Regions from separate parts of the Homo sapiens genome. Here all the other regions are linked to region 1. The links are contacts of gene promoters, found by promoter capture Hi-C in blood cells and fetal thymus (Javierre and others, 2016). All regions are on one chromosome and are shown on one strand. Each heading gives the region's core, a stretch centred on a gene start or on the middle of the fragment in contact. The rest is flanking DNA. Distances are from core to core; before and after follow the strand shown.

Evidence for each region. Contacts are between HindIII fragments. The CHiCAGO score rates a contact against its expected background, and 5 or more counts as called.
Region 2: a fragment that was not itself captured here is called in contact with the fragment with the promoter of PLAAT1 in region 1 in 1 of 17 cell types (M1 macrophages); the score reaches 5.2 in M1 macrophages.
Region 3: a fragment that was not itself captured here is called in contact with the fragment with the promoter of PLAAT1 in region 1 in 2 of 17 cell types (M1 macrophages and endothelial precursors); the score reaches 7.8 in M1 macrophages.
Region 4: a fragment that was not itself captured here is called in contact with the fragment with the promoter of PLAAT1 in region 1 in 1 of 17 cell types (megakaryocytes); the score reaches 6.3 in megakaryocytes.

Annotation. Positions count from the first base shown.
Region 1 is chr3:193,239,192-193,242,763 of GRCh38, forward strand. PLAAT1 (phospholipase A and acyltransferase 1) reads left to right here and starts at 2,031. Exons shown (of 4, transcript NM_020386.5): 1 at 2,031-2,342. It overlaps MGC2889 (a long non-coding RNA gene), which reads left to right and starts at 2,588. Exons shown (of 1, transcript NR_026877.1): 1 at 2,588-3,572. It overlaps LOC105374280 (a long non-coding RNA gene), which reads right to left and starts at 1,832. Exons shown (of 3, transcript XR_924833.3): 1 at 1,704-1,832; 2 at 559-654. RefSeq lists a silencer at 1,933-2,182. The HindIII fragment of the contact is 3,333 bases long and covers 1-2,817 here.
Region 2 is chr3:192,796,882-192,800,453 of GRCh38, forward strand. MB21D2 (Mab-21 domain containing 2) reads right to left here. Exons shown (of 2, transcript NM_178496.4): 2 at 1-2,769. The coding sequence ends at 1,505. Among named protein-coding and RNA genes, the nearest start is that of FGF12, 71 kb to the left of the region's middle. The HindIII fragment of the contact is 2,206 bases long and covers 536-2,741 here.
Region 3 is chr3:192,814,091-192,817,662 of GRCh38, forward strand. All of the region lies in intron 1 of MB21D2 (Mab-21 domain containing 2), which reads right to left. Among named protein-coding and RNA genes, the nearest start is that of FGF12, 88 kb to the left of the region's middle. The HindIII fragment of the contact is 4,756 bases long and covers 1-3,572 here.
Region 4 is chr3:193,569,735-193,573,306 of GRCh38, forward strand. It overlaps a transcript of ATP13A4 not described here. Among named protein-coding and RNA genes, the nearest start is that of ATP13A4, 17 kb to the left of the region's middle. The HindIII fragment of the contact is 1,824 bases long and covers 1,060-2,883 here.

The sequences.
Region 1 (3,572 bases), core at 781-3,280:
GTGAACTTTATTCACTCAACAACAAACAGGACTAAGTCATCTCCATTATGCTTTTTTCAATATGTTTCAACTCTTACTATAAAATTAGGCAGCAACAGAGAATGCCAGCCACACAGGGCTTCACTTATAATGGCCAAAATAATAGGAACTGTTTATTTAAGTGTAATTTAACATCTGCTCCAATCATAGCCCCAGATTACAACTCTAGATTAAGACAAACTTTGCCTATTACTGCCCAAGGCTAAGTCCTCATTCTTTCTTAATGGAAATTTTAATTTTCCACTGCTCATCCGTAGAGTACCACCGATTGATCAACTCTCTCTCCAATCCATAGAAATGAAGAGAGAACTCAGGGCTCTCCTGAACTACAACGCTTTCTACATTTCTCCTATAAATTCCACGCAGGCATTGAATTGAATTTGTTCTTAACCAAATGCGTTTTATCTATACCTGGCAGGAATCTAGAAGTGAAATTACAAGATTTATTTCATTTTAATTCTATTATGAAGCATTTAATCACAAATACCCTGAAAATGAAAAGATAATTTATCATTTTACCTTGACTGAGCAACTCTCCTCACTTCACATTCATGAATCCATAACGCAGAGAGGAGACTGGATGATTAAGTGTTTGATTAGAGAAAACAGATTAACCTAGCAAACATAATAAATTTGGCTCATAAGCAGGATGGCTTTATAAATGCTCACAATACCTCTCCTGTATAAAATCATGAACCACTTCCTACAGTGATGACTCCATCGAAATAGTTGAGAAACATAAAGCAAATGCATGTTTATGGCTTTCTCTTTGAGACATTAAAAGGGTATTGAAAGGCATATCTGATTCAGCTTATAACTCTGGATATATATTAAGGAACATGTAAGAAAATATTAATGCATAAAAAAAGCTACAACTTCTCAAGTGTTCTAGTTTCCACTTTGTCAATAATTACGTTTTCAATGTCCTTCTGTGGACTGTTTCCAAAGGTGCCAATCCAGACCCAAAGTTTCAGATCACTCAGATTCACCCTTAACCTTCATAACACAACCCAATAGCTTTACGAAAAAAGTTGCATATTTAGGTAGTTGTTATCCCATTATGACAAAATACATAAAATTAGCGAGATATTTTTTAGCCTTCAAATAAGTGGGAAAAAATCCTTTTAGCTGAGATTCCATTTACATCAGAATAAAAATCTAAGTTATGACTAGGTTGAAGCAACGTCCTGTGCAGCGCTCCATAAAGTTCACTTAGTCTTCAAGGGTTCCTTACTTAGCTAGGTTAGTATTCCTGGCCTCTTTTTTTAGCAGTGAGAAAAAGGATACTCTCCCTGCCCCAGCTTTATTTTTAAACTCACAGCCATATCCTGGAGGTCTCTGCTGGCTATTTGGCGCGTGGGGGCGGAGGGGGGCCGGGGGAGGGGGGCGGGGCGGGGTCTGGAGGTCTGTGCTGGCTATCTGGCGTGTGTGTGTGTGTGTGTGTGTGTGTGTGTGGTTGGAGGTCTCTGCTGGCTATCTGGCGTGTGTGTGTGTGTGGTGTGGTGTGTGTAAGCAGTGAGGTTGTTTTAGGGCCAGTCCTTCCTCCGCCACTTTGCTGACTCAAAGACCCAGAGGCTTTCTTGGGGTGCAGGTACCATGATTCCTTGGGCCCTAAGGGAATTTTTGTTAGGCTAGAAGAGTGGGTGTACTCATGATGGGTGTACCCGAACATTCCTGGGCTCAACAAAACCGATTATCTTTATAACCGCGGCGCCTAGCACAGCGCCTGGTGCCCTAAACGTTGGCTGCGGGAACGTCCGAGACGCGGGTGCGGAGCCGGGGGCGGAATAACTGGTTGCGCGGCGCTTTGACCGTAGGCGCTGGAGCGCGTGCGTTGCGTGCGCGCGCGGAGGCGGCTGCGTCGGGGCGCGAGAAGGTGCAGTTCCCCGGCGGGCGGGCGGGCGGGCGGGCGAAGCTGGGCTCGGGGCCAAGCGAGGTCTAGCCGGAGCGACTGTGCCCCGCCTCCTGGGCGGAGCGGGCGGCTCCCCATGGTCAGAGCCTCGTGCCGGCTCGGCAGCGCCCGGACGCCGAGCCCAGCGCGTCGGCCCCCCGGCGTGCGGGCGTCTCAGAGCCGCGGAGGGGCCGCCGGGACCGTTTCAGCGTGGCGGCGCTGGTGCTGGCGTTGGCCCTGGAGGACGGCCCCGAGTGATGGCTGGCGCCTGCCTCCCGGGTGTCTCCCGGGTACAGATGGAGTCGTCCCGCGGCCGCCGGCGGCAAGGTCGGCAGCTGCGAGGCCAAGAGAGACCCCAGGACACACACAGCTGCCTCCCGGTGCGAGAAGAAGACCCCGGCTTGAGAGTGAGGTGTGCTGGGCGGAGTGGGGGAGGACCTCGAGGCGCCCCGGCAACCAACCGTGTTCTAACCAACTGGCAAGTGGGAAAAGTTGACATGACTAGAGAACAACGGAGCTTATCCACCCTCCTCTTTTTCACAGACTGGGGAACTCAGTCCACAGGGCAAGAGACTTTCTTCCCTAGGTTACACAGCTATTAAGTGGCAGAGCTGGGACTAGAAACCCAACCTGTTTAAGGCTTTTTAAGCCTACTGTCCTCACTGAAGTGAATATGAATAATAATACAAGTAATTATTATCGTATTGGATTTTGGAAAGTTGGATGGTGATATTCCTTTGGCATGCGAGACTATTAATATGACTCGTGCTGGAAAAAGTCACTCATGTTTTCTCTGGGCTTGGATTCCTCATTCCTTCATTCAATGAACATTTGCTCCGCAGTTACTTGTGCGAGGCACTCTCACCGGAGACTGAAGGTATAGAGCAAGCTTGTCCAACCCGTGGCTCACTAACCGCGTGCGGCCCAGGACAGCTTTGAATGCCGCCCAACACAAATTTGTAAATGTTCTTAAAACATTATGAGAGGTTTTTTTTTTGCGCTTTTTTTTTTTTTCTCATCAGCTATCATTAGAGTTAGTGTATTTTATGTGTGGCCCAAGACAGTTCTCCCAGTGTGGCTCAGGGAAGCCAAAAGATCGGACGCATGGTATAGAGAAAAACAAGAAGCATCCCTCCATAGCGTATGCCCCACAAGAGACAATTTCCCAGAGACCAGTAGCTGAGGCAGGTGTAGGAAGTGAATGGGCCATTAGATGGATGCCTGTGGAAGCTAAAGAAGGCGGATCGGAGGAAGACAATCCGACCTGGGGAGTGGAGGAGAGAGGGGGAGAAGGTGGCATCGACTTGGATTTTTTAAGATTGAGTCATTTGGGGCACTTGGAAATGGGCATTCTGGGTAGAAGGTTCAGTATTAACAAAAACAAAACAATACTCTTGAGTGGGAAGAATAATGGATAGTTTGATTTGCCTAGAATGTAGAGATTAATAAGGATGCCAGGATTCTAGGGCGGGGGACCAAGATGGGGAGTCAGTGGTGGGAAGCCCTGGAAGATTCCAAGCAAGGCATGACAGTGCTGTGGCAGCGGATAGTTAATTTGGCCAAGGAGTGGAACCCTCCTTTGTAGCGTGAGAGTGTTGGACCAAGGATCTTTGCAGCACTGAGAGTCTATGAATTAGCCAAT
Region 2 (3,572 bases), core at 389-2,888, 440 kb before region 1:
TTTTTCATTTATAAGCATTACATTAATTTCCATGCAAAAACCCAAGATCGCATATGTCTGATTTCAATTGGCCAAAATCCAACCCTTGAGTTTGGACATTCAAGACCAAAATGAACACGTTACTTGCCCTTTCTATGAGTAGACATCATGGGTGTCCTTTGAAAGATCAGCAGGCCTCCTGACCTCTTAAACACCAGCTTGCCATGAGTCCACACCAAAACAGGGAGCCAATACCTTCCAGCACCTAATCAGGCAAGTAACTTCACTCATGAAGACAGGACACCTCTATACCAAGGCTGCCACCCACAGATATTTCCTGGGTGCTGCTCTATAGCAATACCTGCTTTTGAACAGACGTGGTATCTTCTATTTGGGGATTATAAGTTCTTCCTGCCAGTTTTTCTCAAAACTCTCAGGAAGAGTAGAGATTTTACAAAAAAGCTTACCTCTATGACCCCAAAAGAAATAAATACAAAGACACCTACTTCATCAAGTGTATATTTTCCCCAGCTTTAGATGGGGTCAACATGTATAAAGCTTTAACAACTTCTCTCAGTAAGACAGGAACCAGGAATATCAAAGAGGGCAAAGCAGGACCCCACAACTGAAGGAGAACTAAGCAAATGCAAAGAATCATTTCACTGATAGAAATGGGCAAAATGAAAAAATGATAGAATTTCGAGAGTGGTTGTTAATTTATATTGAAACACACTTTGCAATTCTGACAATGGCAAAGATTAGTGCAAATAATAATTATAATGGTATGTTCTTTAATAGGATTTAAATAAGGCTTCAAATAATTACATATGCTAAAATTAACATTTGGAAACCTTAATTCTGCTTGGAAAACTGTCAAAGACACCCTTCAAACCACCCAGTGTTCTCTGATTTGAGGACAATTACATTCAATGAAGTTGCTCCAAAACACAATTTGTAGTATTATCACTTTCAAAGTTTACATTGTTTGGTGGAAAAGGGGGGAAACTACTCTGGTCACTGGCCAAAATAAATAAATCCAGCTAACATGCCAAGTAGTTCCCAGGTTCATATGATTCTCAAATATCAGTAGTGGTGAAAGCTCATAAGAAAAAAGACAAAAACAAAATAATAAAAATAATAGGATAGAATCGTTAAGCATCAGAAAGAGATTTGTTTCCCCATACCCATGAACAAATTTGCACCAAGTATGAAACAGAAAAAAGCAAGAGGATTCATGGGCATTTTCATCTATGGCTTAAGATCTCCTTAAAAAGAAAAAAAACTCCAACAAACTAAAGAGCATGACAATAACTACAAAAAGTAAACAACGAAATCAGAGGCAGAATATGAAATAGTAATATACTGTTTCAGAGCCTGCACCATCCTGCAGAACCAGGAAACTTAAAATTTGTTCTTAACAAATCCAATCTAGGCTGGATATGTAAAAAACAGAAAGATAGCATCACAAACCACACGACACATTATCAGAGTTTAAGAATCAGGAAAAAAAAAAGTCAGCTAACACTCAGAAAAATTTGTCATCAATTCTGAAATGGGGCCTTGTGACATCGTCAGGATTGATAAAGACAGAGATTGACTTTCCCGGGTTCTCAGTCACTAGCTGCTGCAGTTTTTTTGCCAAACGGTCATCAGGCTGGTTGGGGTCCCCTCCGTCAGACTGTGGAGAGGGGATGCTGGTGGTGCTACCTCGCCTCTGGAGCTCCAGTGTCAGCCGGTTGGCTGCCTTGACATGCTCAATGGCGGTGCGCAAGTGCTCTGCCGGGTCTGAGCGCACAGAGGACAGCTTCCGGGCGTGAAGCATGACTGTCTCCTCAGACAGATGTTCCAGCATGTTGCACTGAGGGATGAAATAATTGGGGCACATCTTGTTGACCAGACAGTGTTGCAGGTCATCGATGAGGCCCAGCAAAAAGTGGGCTGCATAGTCTTCTTGAGCCAAGTAGTTGGCAGGAAGTCTGTCGCAGGCCCAGAGCATCATGCTCCGCAGGTGATAGGGGCTAATAGCCTTGGGCCGGGACAGCAGTTTAATGATGATGGCTTTGCAGGCCTGATAGGCCTGCATGAGGCTGCTGGAGATGCACTTCTTCAACTGCACCTCGCTCCTGGCAAAGGACAGCCGCCATTCATTGTCCTTCTTACCCTTGTAGGAGCAAGCAGGCACCAAGTAAAACCCACTGATGACCTCTTCCTCAGTAATCTTCCCATCCCAAAAGTGGTTCTCCATGAGCCAGCTCTGGGCCACTGCAGGCCAACCTTTGAAAGATACCACAGGGACAATATCATACAACATGCGACTACTCCCTACACCCAGAATGATGGAGATGATGGTCCCATTTTTTTCCACCTTTTCTACCTTTGGCATCCCTCGCTGGGGTTTCTTCTGTATTTCTGATAGGACAATGCTGATAGAGTCATAGAACCAGTCAGCCACTTTGGTAGGTGAGAAGAAGTAGTTGGTGGCACCATTGATGTGATCTACAATGGTGCAGCAGTCTTTCCATTTACTGATTGTCCCCTCATCAAAGAGCCGAAGGCTCAGCCAAGAGTGGCACAAGGCTGAGTGGCGCATGTCGAGTGTCACAGGCTGATTACGGTCATGCAGCTTGAGGGCTGGCACCAAGAGGGTAAAGTCCATATCATAGTCAGTACCCCGGGCATAGACATTAAGCTCATCTAAGTCCAGGTCCACCACGCCTTCCCGGACACCTCCAGAGAGCAACAGGTATTCATTAGCCACTGGAAGCTTTTGGTCCAGCTTTTGCACCATTCCTGGAAATAAAGAAGAAAAAAACAACACTATTACAGGAAACACAGACATAAGAGTCTTATGCATGAAACAGAATGCTCTGATGTTCCAAGAACCAAAACTCATTATCAGTACTAAATCAAATCTCAGGCTGCTGCAGAGACCTGGCCAACAGTACTTTCTCACTAGTGCTAGAATCCACCCTTTTCCAAATGCAAGAATTATGATAGATTTTTCTCTCTCAGTGTGAAAAGCAGTATCGTTTTCAATAATAAAACAGGGCCCCTCTTCCCCCAGTCATCATCTCAGTTAATGGAATTGCCATCCACTCAGTTATGCAGACTGAAAACCTCAGTACATTTCAACTCTTTGCTGCCCTTCTACTGCCAAATCTTTTCCATGGAACCTCTGCCAGGGTTTCTCACTTCCTTCCCTGTTCTCCATCTCTCCTGCCATCATATGAAGTTCGGCCTTTTTTATCTATTGCCTAAGCGGTTTTCTTTCCCCAGGCTCTTTGCGCTTACACTCTTCTTTGTACCAGCGGTTCTCAGTGTGGGCTGGAGACACTTTCAGGGGTAATGAGTTCATAACTCTCTTTATAATAATACTAACACACTGTTTGACTTTTTTTTTAAGAGACAGGGTCTTGCTATGTTGCCCAGGCTGGTCTAAAATTCCTGGCCTCAAGCAATTCTCCTACCTCGGCTTCCCCCAAGTGCTGGGATTACAGGCATGAGCTACCACGCCCAGTCTTGTCTGACTTTTTTACTGTGTTGCCATTGTACTAATGGCACAGAAACAAGGGAGGATAATATTGCCAGTGCCT
Region 3 (3,572 bases), core at 366-2,865, 430 kb before region 1:
TCAATCTAGTTTTCAAATAACAAATCAGTAATATCCTAAAAACATGCTAGTTTGAAAAATAATGATATGTTAATAAGTCTTAGAAGTATTTCCATCGTATAAAGTTGGAATGTTTGATACATCCAGAAGTTCAGATTAGTACAGCTACACCCATCCCTGTAATTTAAGAAAGGACTAAGGGATCAAATGAGTTTTTCCAAGGACAACAGACATGAAAAAAAAAATACTGACAGGCTAACAGACTAATAAAGAGCTGAATCTGCTGAGACAGAATTGCCTACCTGATAACTGTTTTCAGTATCTGGGTAAAAACATACTCTATTGTTTGAGCTTGAAAATGTTCGGATCAAAAGAAATCAGACTTGAAATAACCAGCCAAAGCCCTCTGCAGAAGTAGAAATTTGCAGTTTAAAAGCACGGGTAGATCATTTAAAAGAGGACAAAGCTGCAGTGTTTTTAAATCCATGCCTGCTCAATTAAAAAAAGTCTTGGGCGGGCGCGGTGGCTCACACCTGTAATCCCAGCACTTTGGGAGGCCAAGGTGGGCAGATCACGAGGTCAGGAGATCGAGACCATCCTGGCTAACACGGTGAAACCCTGTCTCTACTAAAAAAAATACAAAAAATTACCCAGGCGTGGTGGTGGACGCCTTTAGTCCCAGCTACTGGGGAGGCTGAGGCAGGAGAATGGCGTGAACCCAGGAGGTGGAGCTTGCAGTGAGCTGAGATTGTGCCACTGCATTCCAGCCTGGGCGACAGAGCGAGACTCCATCCCAAAAAAAAAAAAAAAATTCTTAGACAAAGTCAAAGATGAGTCTCATAATGCTGACATGGGAAAGTCATACTTTGAGAGATGGCTTCTTTCATCTACTTTCCCCCAACCATCTAAAAATGGAGCAAGTCAGTGGATGAACAGTGTGGCATTCAAACATTCTAGCCAGAAATTATTAACCAAATGATGGCTACTAAGGGAGAAATAAGAGTTTCTTTAATTTCATAGTATTAAAGGATGTTGTTTGAATAAGTTAAAATTCGCTAAGTCTTGGTCTCCAGAGAATGAAGTTTAAGTTATATATGTGTTCCCCACACAAAGAATGAATAAATTGGAGCTTACTGGAGCCAGAACTGACTTTCAAGGTTATTTATTCCAACTGCCATGGTATGTATGAGGTTGCTAAGGCCCAGAAAGCAAAGGTGACACAGCACTGAACCTGGCACAGGTGCCAGAAATAGAACCCAAAGTACTTGACTCTCAATCCAGAACTCCCTGCTTCATATGTGGGTCTCAAACCGAGAGGCTTGTTAAAAATGCAGGTTCCCATGTCTCACCCCACAAGGATGGAAGCATAATCTCCAAGGAGACATGTGTTTAGCAATGTTGAAATGCTTTTAAAAATTGAGTCTGCCTCTCTCTCAATTTCAAAGCAGAAAGTTTAACTGCATGAAATCAGGAAAGGCAAAGCTGTCAAGTTAGAGGAAGGAATTTACTGTCTCAGTAATTCTCTAAGATCTTGAAGAGCTGAGATTGGCTACTTTTCAAATCAGGGAAGACAACTTTGGCGGGCTTTTGGAAACATGATAGTAATTGAGATTCAGGAGGGATGTGACAGGTCTCATTCTGTACAATTGGGGAATTCATTCATCTCTAACCACCCAGGTATTCATTTAGTTTGAAAGAAAATGATGTATTTGTGCTAGATTTCTGCTATTTTTTCAGGGCCCGTATCTTCCTCTACCCATCAGATAGGGATGGATTTTTGTCCTCTATTCAATCTCAAGCATAGATAAAGTGATTGCATCACCAGCCGAATCCTTAAGGACAATTGGCGCCCATACCACACTTGGCTTGGGAGCACATATATGGGTCAGTGAGTATCAAGTGTGGAGCTGACTTGGCAGCCAAGCAATAAACCTGCAGTGATGGGCACAATTACAGCTCAGTTCTCAAAACCAAAGATCACACAGTTTGAATAGAGGTGTACAATTTCCAAAGCTATCAATTGTCCCAGGGTTGAATTGAGAGACGACGACAGATTAAATGCAGACAGCTGTATTTATATTGTGTCCCTTCCAAAAGTCCAGTTTGGGTTTTATAGTGAAGTGGCAAAAAGACGAGAGGACAATTTTTTTTTTTAAAAAAAAAGATGGTTCCGACTTGAGAAAGGTTATTAAAGGACTCAGGTGTGCTACGATTGTGAGATGCAAAAATCCCATTTTTAAGATAGTGACAAAAATGACATTTTGTACACAGACCCAAGTCTTGTTATGACAGTAACTTTCAGATGAAAAATTCCATAATTCCAGTCTAACAAGAGGTGGTTTGAGGAGAAACTCTCCAGTAAAATCACATGAAGTTTTCAGTCTTTCCACTAGAGGTCATGCCTTCCTAATTTTTCTTTAGTTGCTGGACTGGCTGCAACCCAAAAAGTAAGGCCTGAGGTTGAACATAAATTTTTAAAATTAATACCTGATTTTACTGGTATGCTTTCAAAGTGAGTGAGAACACAGTGCTTCTTGCCGGTGAATTTCAAATGCCCACATGCTGTTTGCAGCAATTCTACTGTCACGATGGGATGTCACATCGTCGTTGGTAAGATTCACAGCTTTGAGGTGAACAAGGAAGACAGAAAAGAAGGATGCCAGAAAGGATGATGTGGATGCCGTGATAGAAAGATTATTAATTTAGGATACAGGCACGCTTGAATGTGGACCTTAGCTTCATGATTTATTAGCTGTGTGGCATCTGGATAAGTTACTTGACTTTCTGAAACTTCAGTTTCCCCATTAAAAAAAAAATGGGGGTAATATCATCTTTCTCATAAGGTTCTTGGGACACTTAATTGAAACAGTTACATAAAGCTCCAAGCAGAGTTTCTGGAACTTTGCAATCCTGAGAAAATGTAATTGTATTTTTAAAATCACATTCTGTTCACACTTCTGTAGGTTAATGAATAACACTCGTCTTTATCCTGTTATTTGGGCATGTGACTTTTAAAAATAAATATTCCAATACTTTTTCTATCTATTCTATCACTTCCCTCCCTGTTTTTCTTTTAATTTTAGTTTTTATTTAGTAATGTAGTCATGTGGTTCAACATTCAACAGCACAGACGTGACCCTGGAGGGGAGGATCTGTGTTTGAGTCACCCCTTTATTACCAAGAGCTCCTCATGCAGTGCTTTGTAATGCAAGTAACTGTGTGTCAAGTAATGTGGGTTGAGTGGGTGAAACCTCTTGACAACTCTGTCAGCTTTGTAAGGGACAGAAAACACTCTGAATGAAAAGTTAACACAAAGCACCTGGTAGATAGGAGAGAGGGAAGGAGGGAAGGAGGGAAGGAAGAAGGGAAAGAAGTGAGAGAAAGGAAGGGAAAGAAACAGATATACTGATTTTTACAGTTAGTTTTAGCTTAATATAATCTTTTACAGGACTCAATCATGACAGCTAGCATCACTGCAAACAGTAAATCTGTCATCATTAAACAGGTACCACCAGAGCCCTGCACCATCACTCAGTTGACAAATACTTCAGATTCTGTCCTTAAAATGTTTGTGGTGTAGTGTCCTTCCTGCA
Region 4 (3,572 bases), core at 722-3,221, 330 kb after region 1:
TACGTTTCCAAGCTGGTCTTGAACTCCTGAGCTCAAGCAATCCTCCCACCGCAGGCTCCCAAAGTGCTGGGATTACAGGTATGAACCACTTCACCCAGCCAGTACTGGTTACTTAATTGTGATAAATAAACCATATTAATGTAAGATATTAACAATGAGGGAAATCGGGTGCGGGGTATATGAGAACTCTCTATGCTATCATCACAATCTTTCAATAAACCTAAAACTATTCAAAAATGGAGAGTTTATTTTTTAAAAATTACGCATACAAATATGCTTTGCCAGCAGGGTGCGGTGGCTCATGCCTGTAATCCCAGCACTTTGGGAGGCTGAGGCAGGAGGATCACTTGAGCCCAGGAGTCTGAGAAAAGCCTGGGCAACAAAGCAAGACCTTCTATCTAAAACAAAACAAAACAAAAAAATTAAAAATTAGCCAGGCGTGGTGGCACACACCTGTAATTCCGGCTACTCAGGAGACTGAGCTGGGAGGATTGCTTGAGCCCAGGAGGTCGAGGCTGCAGTGAGCTGTGATTGTGTAATTGCACCACTGCACTCAAGCCTGGGCAATAGATTGAGACTCTGTCTCAAAAAAATATGTTTGCTTAGTAAGCCACATAATATATGCCTAAATTGTTGTTTTCCTATGTCTTAACATGATTTATAGGTTATTTCTTGTCAGGAAAAGTATTTTATTTCTTAATTATTTATCATTAGAACCATGTATGACATGCTAATTATAAATTATATACTAGCAAAATCTCAATGCATTTTTATTGAATTTTTTATTTTATCATTGACAAATCAGAAGGGGAAACTATCAGGGTGACAGTGAACAGAAGGGAAGGATAAAGGACTGGAATAGAGGCCTAATACCACCACAGTCTTTATCTTTATTTTTTCCTCATACAATTAAACTCAGCCTCTTAGCATATCCTATTCTTGAGTAAAGCAGGGAGGCAGTGTCATAGCGGTGAAACCCACAGGCTCTGAATTCTCACAGACCAGAGCTTGCATCCTGTGTACCAGTTGTGTGGTCAGGGGAAATTATTTATCTCTACAAGCTTCAGGCTCATCATATGGGACCAAAGGATAATAATATCTCCCATGAGGATGGTTGCTAATATTAAATGAGATGACATATATACAATGCTTAGCACAGTGTATATATAAATTCCCAATAATTGGTAGCTATTATTATTATTAAAGGGGTGTAAAATTTGGCCAGACATGGTTGTAAAAGCAAAGTAGAAAATAAGTATCTGGCCAGGTGTGGTAGCTCATGCCTGTAATCCCAGCACTTTGGGAAGCCAAGGCGGGTGGGTCAACTGAGGTCAGGAGTTCGAAACCAGCCTGGCCAACATGGCAAAACCCCGTCTCTACTAAAAATACAAAAATTAGCCGGGCATGGTGGCGTGGGCCTGTGATCCCACCTATTCAAGAGGCTGAGGCAGGAGAATTGTTTGAACCTGGGAGGTGGAGGTTGCCAGTGAGCCGAGATTGCGTTACTGCACTCCAGCCTGGGTGACAAAGCAAGACCTTGTCTCAAAAAAAAAAAAAGAAATATCCATGAGTTCAAAGAGAGATACAAATAAACAATTGAATAAATAAATGGGGAGAATAGATAAATCTTCCGTACAGAATTCCAGATAACTTATGCACACAGGGCTCCTCAGAAAGGGCTACATAACTATTCACTCCTTAACATTGGCTGCTGGTAGTGACTTCCTTCCACAGTGTACAGTATGAGGGGTGAGGAGGAAGTAACTTTACAGTGGAGAAACCTACCAAATATTGCTCAGTCAGGTGATGAAGGTTAATTTCAAAATTGATATGTCATGCTGACAACATGGTGTGATAAGCATGGCACTTTACCTCTTACAGTCTTCCTCCCAAAAACCTACAACTCCTGTCTATCCATGAGAAAAACATCAGACAAACCCCAATTGAAGGGCATTTTATAAAACACGTAATACCCCTCAAAGCTGTCAAGGTCGGCACAAACAAGGAGAATCTGAGGAAATGTCATGGTCTAGGTGAGCCTAAGGAGACATAACGCATCAATCTAATGTGGTATCTTGAATGGAATCCTGGTACATGAAAAGGACATTAGGCCTGTGAAATAAAATAATAATAATAATAAAAAGGACGTTAGGTAAAACTAAAGAAAACTGAGTTATGGACTTTAGACTTTAGTTAATACTAACACATCAGTCTTGGTTTACTTGTTGTAATAAATGCACCATACTAATGTAAGATGTTAACAAAACAGGAAGCCGCCCAAGCAGGCAGATGGCTTGGGCCAGGAGTTCAAGACCAGCCTCAGCAACATGGCAAAACCCCGCCTCTACAAAACATACAAAATAATAATAATAGCCAGGCAACACATGCCTGTAGTCCCAGCTACTCGGGAGGCTAAAGTGGGAGGATTGCCTGAGCTCCAGAGGCAGAGGTTGCAGTGAGCCGAGATCATGCCACTGCACTCCAATCTGGGGGACACAATAAGACCCTGTCTAAAAAAATAGGGGAAACTGACTTTGTTTGGGGTATATGGGAACTCTCTATCCTATCTTCATAATTTTTCTGTAACTCTAAAACTATTGTAATATAAAAAGTTCAGGTTTTAAAAAAGCAGTGGGAATAGAATGTTTGTTACAGTAATTGAGAACTACCTATTTTAAACTTACAGCAGTCTTGCCTTTGTTTATTAATTTGTTAAAATAATTGAATACTCCATGATAGCAATGTGCGAATTTGGATCTAGATGGATGGTATGAACCAGTTTAGGTTTAAAAAACGAACAGAACATCCTCGGTTTAGTGGGACGCCTCTGCCCCCTAGTGTCTTAACATTCAATCTGCGTTTAGTGGCAAAGGACAGCCTGCAAGCTTCAGTCACTTGATGTTTCAAGGTCTGGACAAGAGTGGAGACATTCTCAGAGCCTCTGATCTACTAGAATCGTACTCCAGTTTGTTCATATACCCAGAAACTATGCACCGCTGAGTGGTCCCTGAAGACGTTAGTACATGCACGTGATGGAACCAGCTGATGGGAATGTAAAGGGCAGGAGGGCAGTTTGACATGTGAATAGGAAGCCTTACAAATGTGTATAGGCCAGGTGCAGTGTGACTCACGCCTGTAATTCTAGCACTTTGGGAGGCTGAACTGGGCAGATCACTTGAGCTCAGGAGTTCGAGACCAACCTGCGCAATATGGTGAAACACCTTCTTTACAAAAAAAAAAAAAATTACAAAAATTAGCTGGGCATGGTGTGCACACCTGTGGTCCCAGTTACTCGGGGTGGGGGGCAGGGGTTGGGGGGAGGGGAGTAAGGGCTGAGGTGGGAGGATGGTTTGAGTCTGGGAGGTGGAGCTTGCAGTGAGCCGAGATCACCGACATGGTTTAAATGTTCATGATATAATGTTTAGCAAAACTCTAAACAGTGTGACCAAAACTTTAAGAAATACCACAGATTAATATATAAAACTTTAAGGAATACCACAGATGAACTTTAACGAATACCACAGCCATATATATATATATACATATATATATATACACATATATATATATAT